Regions from separate parts of the Homo sapiens genome. Here region 1 is linked to region 2. The links are contacts of gene promoters, found by promoter capture Hi-C in human tissues and cell types (Jung and others, 2019). All regions are on one chromosome and are shown on one strand. Each heading gives the region's core, a stretch centred on a gene start or on the middle of the fragment in contact. The rest is flanking DNA. Distances are from core to core; before and after follow the strand shown.

Region 1 (4,203 bases), core at 1,309-3,808, 140 kb before region 2:
TCCTCTTCCTTTTTACTAACAGACGCAGACCAAACTGGAGCATGCCCGCATTAAGGAGCTTGAACAGAGCCTGCTCTTTGAAAAGACCAAAGCTGACAAACTCCAGAGGGAGTTAGAAGACACTAGGGTAATGGTTTTCACTATTTAATGAAGCAGACCCATGCATGTGAAGGGTGGACACCTCAGGTGACATGCTTTATAGTTGGCCTGAGCCTTGACCCAGTGGTTCAACCTGAGTTTGGTCTTGGTACCATTCAGGTGTTTGTGAGCTGAGACTGATGAGTAGGAACAGGTGTTTTATATCTCGTCTTTTGTCAAAAGTAAAGACTCATTCCTTTGGTAACCCAACCAAATCAGGATCAGAAACTTTACAACTGAATAAATGAATGGATATAACTGTATTTGAAGTTATTTATATTAATACCATGAAATATATTTCTCCAGTTGGCCACAAGCAGTCAATTGTCCTCTTGTTCTCAAATATCTAGTTACTAGGCTTTCTAAATAATTTTTTGTTATTGTTGTTTTACTTTAGCTCTCTTCCTGCCTTCTTCCCTGGCCTCTTGGAGAAGGAAATGGAAACATGGGCTGTGTTTCATGAGAGTTAAAAACTTTCACCCCAGTTACCTTTTTATCTTGGAAGGCTGATCTCTGCATCTCCCTCCTTCCTGTCGCTCGGGGGATTGAAACCTCAGTGGACACTGGGCGCAGTGGCTCTTGCTTCTTATCCCAGCACTTTGGGAGGCTGAGGCAGGCAGATTACTTGAGGTCAGGAGTTTGAGACCAGCCTGGCCAACATGGTGAAACCCTGTCTTTACTGAAAATACAAAAATTGGCTGGGCCTGGTGGCGCATGCCTGTAATCTCAGGTACATGGGAGGCTGAGGCAGGAGGATTGCTTGAATCCAGGAAATGGAGTTTGCAATGAGCTGAGATCGTGCCACTGCACCCCAGCCTGGGTGACAGAGTGAGACTCTGTCTGGAAAAAACAAAACAAAACAAAAAAACCCTCAGTGGTGAGGAGGGAAATGCATGTTGGGAACAGAATGGCTTCTTCCTGCCCTGAGCTCATTGTGCTTAGCCCTTGGAGCCAGGACATTACTCAGGTTTTAGTTTATTTATATATTAAAGCACCTATATAGTGCATACTTCATGCCAGACACTATTCTAAGTGCTTTGCAGGTATTCAGTCTCAACACAACCCTAGGAGGTAGGGAATATTAGTGTCCCCATTTTACAGACAAGAACACTGAGGCGCAGAGAAGTTAAATAACTTGCCTAAGATAAAACAGCAAATAGTAATAATGGAGGCAGGATTTGCATCTAGGACATTTGGCCCCAGAGTCTGTGCTCTTAAGCACCACAGGATGGAGTCCGTCTATTATGGAAGTTGTTTTGTGCGTAAAGATTAAGAAATGGCCAGGCGCGGTGGCTCATGCCTGTAATCCCAGCACTTTGGGAGGCTGAGGTGGGTGGATCACCTGAGGTTGGGAGTTTGAGACCAGCCTGGCCAACATGGAGAAACCCCATCTCTACTAAAAATACTAAAATTATCCGGGCGTGGTGACACATGCCTGTAATCCCAGCTACTAGGGAGGCTGAGGCAGGAGAATCACTTGAACCTGGGAGGCAGAGGTTGCGGTGAGCCGAGATCACGCCATTGCACTCCAGCCTGGGCAACAAGAGCGAAACTCTGTCTCAAAAAAAAAAAAAGAAAAAGAAATAGTCACTTACATGTAAGATATGTAGTCACATACCCTTTTAAATCATGAATTTGTCTGTCAGTGACTAAATTGCCCAGATTCTTAACTTTAGAATTCCAAAAATTACTCTGTCTCTAATCAAATTTGCTATCCTGATTTTTAAAAAAATTTCTAGTGTTTGTAGAAATTTCTCTTGTTGAGAATTAATTGACTGATCTAAAAATCTAGACAATTTTTCTTTTCTAAATCATGTGTTTTTATTTTTTAAGAAGAAGGAACTATCGGCCTCTGAACTAAAGATTTCTCCTGTGTATTTGGTAAGAAAACAAAAAAAGAGTGGGCCAGGCATGGTGTTTCATGCCTGTAATCCCAGCACTTTGGGAGGCCAAGGCAGGAGGATCACCTGAGTCCAAGAATTCAAGACCAGCCTGGGCAAGGTGGTGATACCCTGCTTCTACAAAAAATAAAAAAAAAAATTAGCTGGGTGTGGTGGCTACATGGCAGGCTGAGGTGGAAGGATCTCTTGAGCCCAGGAGGTCGAGGCTTGCAGTGAGCCATGTTCATGTCTCTGCACTCCAGCCTGGGCAATAGAGCAAGACCCTGTTTCAAAAAAAAAAAAAAAAGTGGCAATTTGGTGCTGTTTCCTCATTAACTGAGAGCCAAATAATTGATCCGGGAAATACAATGGACTAATGAGATTGAGTTCCTTTAGTGTGATGGCTTTTGAAGTAATATATTTTTTTAAAACATGTAAACTCCTCTCCCGTATCTTAGTTTTGTCAGCAAACAATTTTGATGTTTTTTTTCCTGCTCTAGATAAGGCATTCAGTTACACCATGGTTTATCCAAGTATTTCAGTGTAAAGCTTATATCTTTCCATAACGAAGTATGTCTTCTGTTGATCCTCACTCTTGGGTTCCCAAGTGTTAAGATAACCAGCTACCCATGTAAGTTTCATATCACCTATGTTACTTTTTAGGAAGTGCTTTAGAATACTTTCTAGCCAATAAATCCAGTTTCCAAACAGTGTGCTTGGTGCTGTAGAGATGTTAGGAAGAATAAGAAATAATTTCTGACTTAATTCATGGTCTCAAACTAGTGGGAGAAGCAGACATACCACATAGTTTTGAATTAGGGCAGATTTTGGGAAATGAAAAATAAATTGCTGTACTTTATAGGGAAATGCCACGGAAAGTAAAATCACATTGGTATTTATTATTTTTACTTATTTTTTACTTGGCATTTTTCTCTACTTGACTGTTTTGTTGTAACTAAGAACCATTGCCCTATTGGGTTTAATGTATTTATGCTACAGACCTTGCAGCAATGGGGTTTATTAGTGTTTTGTGTTTTTTTTTCTTTTATTTAGCAAATTCTGCCAGATCCTGATGGGTTTATTAATGTTTTGTATGTTATTTTGACGTAACAAACTCTTGGACTCTTCCTTCCCCAGAAAATCATGTGTAAATGAATTAACATCTTTAACCTGATGAGTCTATAACCACGAAGCACAGCAATTATAGTCAGCTCTGAAATATTTAATTTTATTTACTTTGATTATGCAGTTTTGGAGACTCAGTGCTTTCTTTTCCTCTTCTCTTATGGGCATTTTAATCTTTATTGGTGTCACAGCCTGTAGGGTGGACAGAGGAAATGAAAGAAAACATATCTGTTATTTTCTGTCTCAAAGAAAGGCAGTGTGGGAGAGGAGTCTTAAATTCAGAAGAATATTTAACATTTTTTTGTAGAGATGGAGTTCTCGCTGTGTTGCCCAGGCTGATCTTGAACTCCTGGCCACAAGTGATCCTCTTGCCTTGGCCTCCCAAAGTGCTAGGTATATAGGCATGTACCACCTCACCCAGCCAATCACAGGAGTTTTGATCCTTGAAATATGGGACTCACTGCTGTTTTAAAATTATTTTGTTCCCTTTCATTTCCCAGATTAGTCCAAGAATTTTTGTGATGGAAGCTATTTTCCACACATCCTATGTACTAAATGGACTGCATAGCAGGTAGCAGAGGGAAGTAATTTTCTAGCAATGAAAGGGCACAGGTTAAGAAAGTGTTTTTCTAGCCCTGGGGTATTTATTTAAAGGAAGAAGATTCTTGGGTACTATCCCGGAGCTCAAATAGAATCGAAGTACATGGGAATAGGTAGAAACTTGCAGGTTAGATGTACATTCCAGGTGATTCATGTGCGTACTAATGTCTGAGAACCACTGGGTTAGGGGGTTAGGGGAAGAAGATGTTTACATCAAAATGCTGATAGAATTATCATATCTAAAAAGGGGATTTTGTGTAAGATTCTTGTGTATTATTGCAGGTAAGTAATCATTCTTACTTTGTGTTTTAATAAAATGATCAGTAGGCCAGGCGTGGTGGCTCACGCCTGTAATCCCAGCACTTTGGGAGGCCAAGGTGGGTGGATCACTGGAGGTCAGGAGTTCGAGACCAGCCTGACCAACATAGTGAAACCCCGTCTCTACTAAAAATGCAAAATT
Region 2 (4,022 bases), core at 1,324-3,823:
CGGGTCCCTGTCCCCAAGAGTTGGGCAGGAGTTAACCTGCACCCCAGCCGCTAAGTCCCTGCTGGCCTCTGGACTTTTTATTCTCAGCGTATCCTCAGGCTCTTTCCAGAGTCCTCCCTCCCCTGAGGATGGGCTAAGCACAGCTGCTTTGCCAGCCCTTGCCCTCCTCTGCCATCATCTGAGGACTCCTGGGTCTGTTTTTCCCAAAAGGACTTGCAGCCACTTTACAGCTGACACCATAAACGTTCCCAGCCATTCTTCCAGGAAACTCGAGCACCTGATGAGTTTTAGGCACAGACTCAGTTTAGCTTGGATCAAATTCACTAAGTGTGGAACTGACATTCAGGGCTTTTCAAGTGGGAAGTGAAACCATTTCCCAAAAAAAGCTTGGTGCCTGTGGGGTCCTGTGTTGGGCGTCTCCAAGATGACCAGGAGTGCACTGCTTCCCTCGGAGGAGAACCAGCACCACAGGGTGGCCGTGGCCACCAAAGCACACACCCTTTACACCTGCCTCAGAGGTCGGGGCTTCCAGGAGGGAGGGAGGGAGACAAAGCCACACACCACAAGAGGGGAAGCAGGAAAGCTGGGGACTTGTATCAGGGATGGCTTCCGAGGCACCCCGCCCCGCCTTCCCACCACGTTCTAAGTGCTGATTTCTCCCAGGGACCTGAAAAGAAGGATGAGGAGACAGAATCCACCAGTGTGGCCTGCCCGAGCTCCACGTAGCAAAGCCTGTCTTCAGTTTCTCATTTTTGTCCCTCTGGTGTCTCCCTCTGCCCCAGTCCCCTCCCCTTGACCTCCACTGCCAAGTCATCCTGTCCCTTCACTTCTGACCAGTCTGCCGCATTGGCCACTGCCACAGCCGCCGTCACCAGAAAAGCAACTGCTAGGTGCTAGGGATGCAGTGGCAAGCAAGACAGGGTCGCTGCCCTCTCAGAGGGGAGCACAAAACGCATAGGAACCAGGTATGTTGAGAAGTTACAGTCTAATGCAGAGAATTGGCTGACGCGGAGGACGGATCCCATAGCCAAGGGTAGCTAAAAAGCCCTCCTTGATGGAGGGACGTTTGAGCAAGAACTGAGTGAGGAATGGCACCTTGCGTGAAGACCTGGGGTCTCTGCAGGCCGTGGGCAGAGTCAGGCAGCTCCAGGGCAGGAGAGAGGGGAGAAAGAAGGGAGACGGGGGCCCAGCAGGTTTACAGTAGGAAGAGGCCAGCCCGGCTAGTGAAAGAGCTAAGGGTTTTGTTGGTTTTTTTTGAGACAGTGTCTCTGTCACCCAGACTCTAGTGCAGTGGCACAATTATAGCTCACTGCAGCCTGGAACTCCTGGGTTCAAGCGATCCTCCGGCCTCGGCCTCCCCAGTAGCTGGGACTACAGGCGTGCAGGGCCCGGCTAATTTATTTTTTGTAGAGATGTGGTATCTTTTGTTGCCTGGGCTGGTCTGGAACTCCTGGCCTCAAGCGATCCTCCCGCCTTGGCCTCCCAAAGCGTTGGGACTACAGGCGTGAGCCACCGGCCAGAGTTTTCTGAGCCCCCTGGAGATCTATGCGGGGGTGGGGGACAAGGGGGTCTGGCAGAGGCGGTGAAAGAATCTGACCTTTGGTAAAAGGCCACTCCTACCGCCCCTTCCCTGGTGGGCTGCGGAAGGCTGGGGAGGAAGCATGAACGGCAGCTGGAGACTGTCTCCGTGCTCAGGATGCCGGGCGGCGGCGGCGGCGGGGTCGAAGCGAGATGAGTCTCAGGTGTGCGAGCACCGCGGGCTGTGGACGAGAGGCCCGGGCGGGCGGCGGTGCCATTCACCGAGAAGGGCGCACAGCAGGTGGCTTGGTTCCGTCCCAGGAGGTTTCAGCCCAGGCTGCGCCGCGGCCCGGGTGGCCCCTGTCCCGCCGCGGGCGTCCCCAGGCGCTGGCCGCACGGCCTCGCCCCGCCGCCCTCCGAGCCGCGGAGACCCCAGAGCCCGGCTCTCCACCCGCCGCGGAGCGCACGACCCCGTCTGGTGGGGCGCGGGTCCTGAGGCTGCGCTCGGCCTTGGGCGGCAGCCGCCTCGGATCCCCACAGGACTCGGTGACCCAAAACGCCCTGGCGCGGGCAGGGGGCGAACTCTGGTTCATTCTTTCAACGCGACAGTCTCCGAAGGGCTGACGGCAGCAGAGACCCACTCTGCGGGGACCCCCGGGCCGGGGTTGGCAGCAGCGCTGCGCGTCGGGCGCGGGCGGCCCAGGCTGGCGGGGTCTACCGCGCCCGGCTCCAGCCTCTGTCCCCAGCCTGGAGAACCGAAGCCGAGCGGCCCGTGGGCCCCGAGCCGTGCCCGCCGAGGCCAGACTCGCGCCGCACCCGGGCGGGGCCGGCGTCCTCGCGGGGACCCTGGGGGACCGGGGAGCGGGCCGCGGGGTGCAAAGGCACGGCCGCCCTGGCGACGCCCCTCCCTGCACGGTGACCCAGCCTCCCTCACAGCAGCGGCGTCCCGGCCCCCAACCTACCTGAGCGTGACGCCGGGGTACGGGCGTGGAGCTCGTGCAGCGGAGCCAGGGCGGATGGCGCCCAGGTGCGCGGAGCTCTCGGGGCTCGGGAGTGGGCGGGGCTTCTGGAGGAGGTGGGAATTTGGGGCGGGGTTCTGGCGGGGGCGGGTTTGGGGCCTCCCCGGACCCAGCCGCGGGTCTCCGCAGCGCCGGAGGCTGGACGCACGCGTCCCGCGCCCGGTCCTGGGGTCCGCACGAGCCGGGTCGGGCAGAGGCTGCTCCTCCTCCCCAGGACGCCGGCGCCACACCCGCCCCCCGACGCGTGCGGCGGGACAGAAGCGGAGGCGGGAGTGCTGGGAACAGCCTTTACTGCCCACGCCCTACACGGCGAACATGCGCAGAGCCTCCTCCGCCGAGCGGCACTGGTTCAGCTGGATCTGCACCTCTACGGTCAGGGGCTCAGGGTGGTAATCGCCTTCGTAGATCGGAATCACGGCTTTCGGCTTTTCTGAGAAAATTTAAGTGCGAGCATGAGCCCCGGGAGACGGATGGGCTGGCGTTCTCGGCCGCCCTGACCCATCCCATATGCAAGCCCTGGACCCTGTCCCAGCGGGAGCACAGTTTTGGTCCTCGGGTGTTAACAGTAATAAGAAATAAAATTAAATTGTATTTAATTAGATCATTTAATAAATCGCAGCTGTTTGAGTTGCAAGACTGGCTGCTTTTTGCTTTGAGACAGTGTCGTGCTCCGTCGCCCAGGCTGGAGTGCGGTGGCATGATCCCGGCTCACTGCAACCTCCGCCTCCCAGGTTCAAGCGATTCTCCTGCGTCAGCCTCCAAGTAGCTGGGATTACAGGCGCCTGTCACCACGACCGGCTATTTTTTGTAGTTTTAGTAGAGACGGGGTTTCACCATGTTGGCCAGCCTGGTCTCGAACTCCTGACCTCAAGTGATCCGCCTGCCTAGGCCTCCCAACGTGCTAGGATCACAGGCGTACACTACCGAGCCCAGCTGCAGATATTTTCTTAAAAATGAAGTAATTATAGCACTTCAGGGGAAACAACTGAAAGCATTTCAATAAATGTATAACATTTGCCCTAAAAATGAGACAACATTGTATCTGCCACCATGAATTTACCAATTTTCCAATACGCAAAGACCTTTCTAATGATGTGGGTGGTGATAGTAAAGAACGTGATCTTTGGAAAATGTATAGTGACAGGTGTCAACTGTTGGAATATCTGCATAAGTCTGTTAACCTGTAGTTTACAAGTAACTCATGCATGTTACAAACTGCATGGTAAAATATCCGTTCAAAATGCAAACTAGATTAATGAATTTTAATCTGATTATGAAAAATTCAATATAGATTGTTTTCACATTGTAACAACCTTTAAGAAATTACCACTTGTCAAATTTGGTGTAATATTAAAGAAATTATATTATTTTAAGGTCTATTAAAATACTCCCTCTTTTCCAATTATGGGCCTGAGGTTGGATTTTCTTTGTGCACGTCAATTACAGCAACATATTGCAAGCAGTTGACTGCAGAAGTAGCTGTAA

The links. The method cuts DNA at HindIII sites, captures the fragments that hold promoters and counts their contacts. A contact is called where the count stands out against the background at its distance.
Region 1: a contact is called between a fragment that was not itself captured here and the fragment with the promoter of B3GNT4 in region 2, in 5 of the 25 tissues and cell types used here (lymphoblastoid cells, mesenchymal stem cells, small bowel and 2 more).

Annotation. Positions count from the first base shown.
Region 1 is chr12:122,343,299-122,347,501 of GRCh38, reverse strand. It overlaps CLIP1 (CAP-Gly domain containing linker protein 1), which reads left to right. Exons shown (of 26, transcript NM_001247997.2): 10 at 23-127. Among named protein-coding and RNA genes, the nearest start is that of CLIP1-AS1, 50 kb to the left of the region's middle. The HindIII fragment of the contact is 6,248 bases long and covers 1-4,203 here.
Region 2 is chr12:122,202,260-122,206,281 of GRCh38, reverse strand. It overlaps B3GNT4 (UDP-GlcNAc:betaGal beta-1,3-N-acetylglucosaminyltransferase 4), which reads right to left and starts at 2,573. Exons shown (of 3, transcript NM_030765.4): 1 at 2,481-2,573; 2 at 1,598-1,760. The coding sequence starts at 1,663. LRRC43 (leucine rich repeat containing 43) reads right to left here. Exons shown (of 12, transcript NM_001098519.2): 12 at 2,811-2,967. The coding sequence ends at 2,840. RefSeq lists a silencer at 2,259-2,888. The HindIII fragment of the contact is 16,495 bases long and covers 1-4,022 here.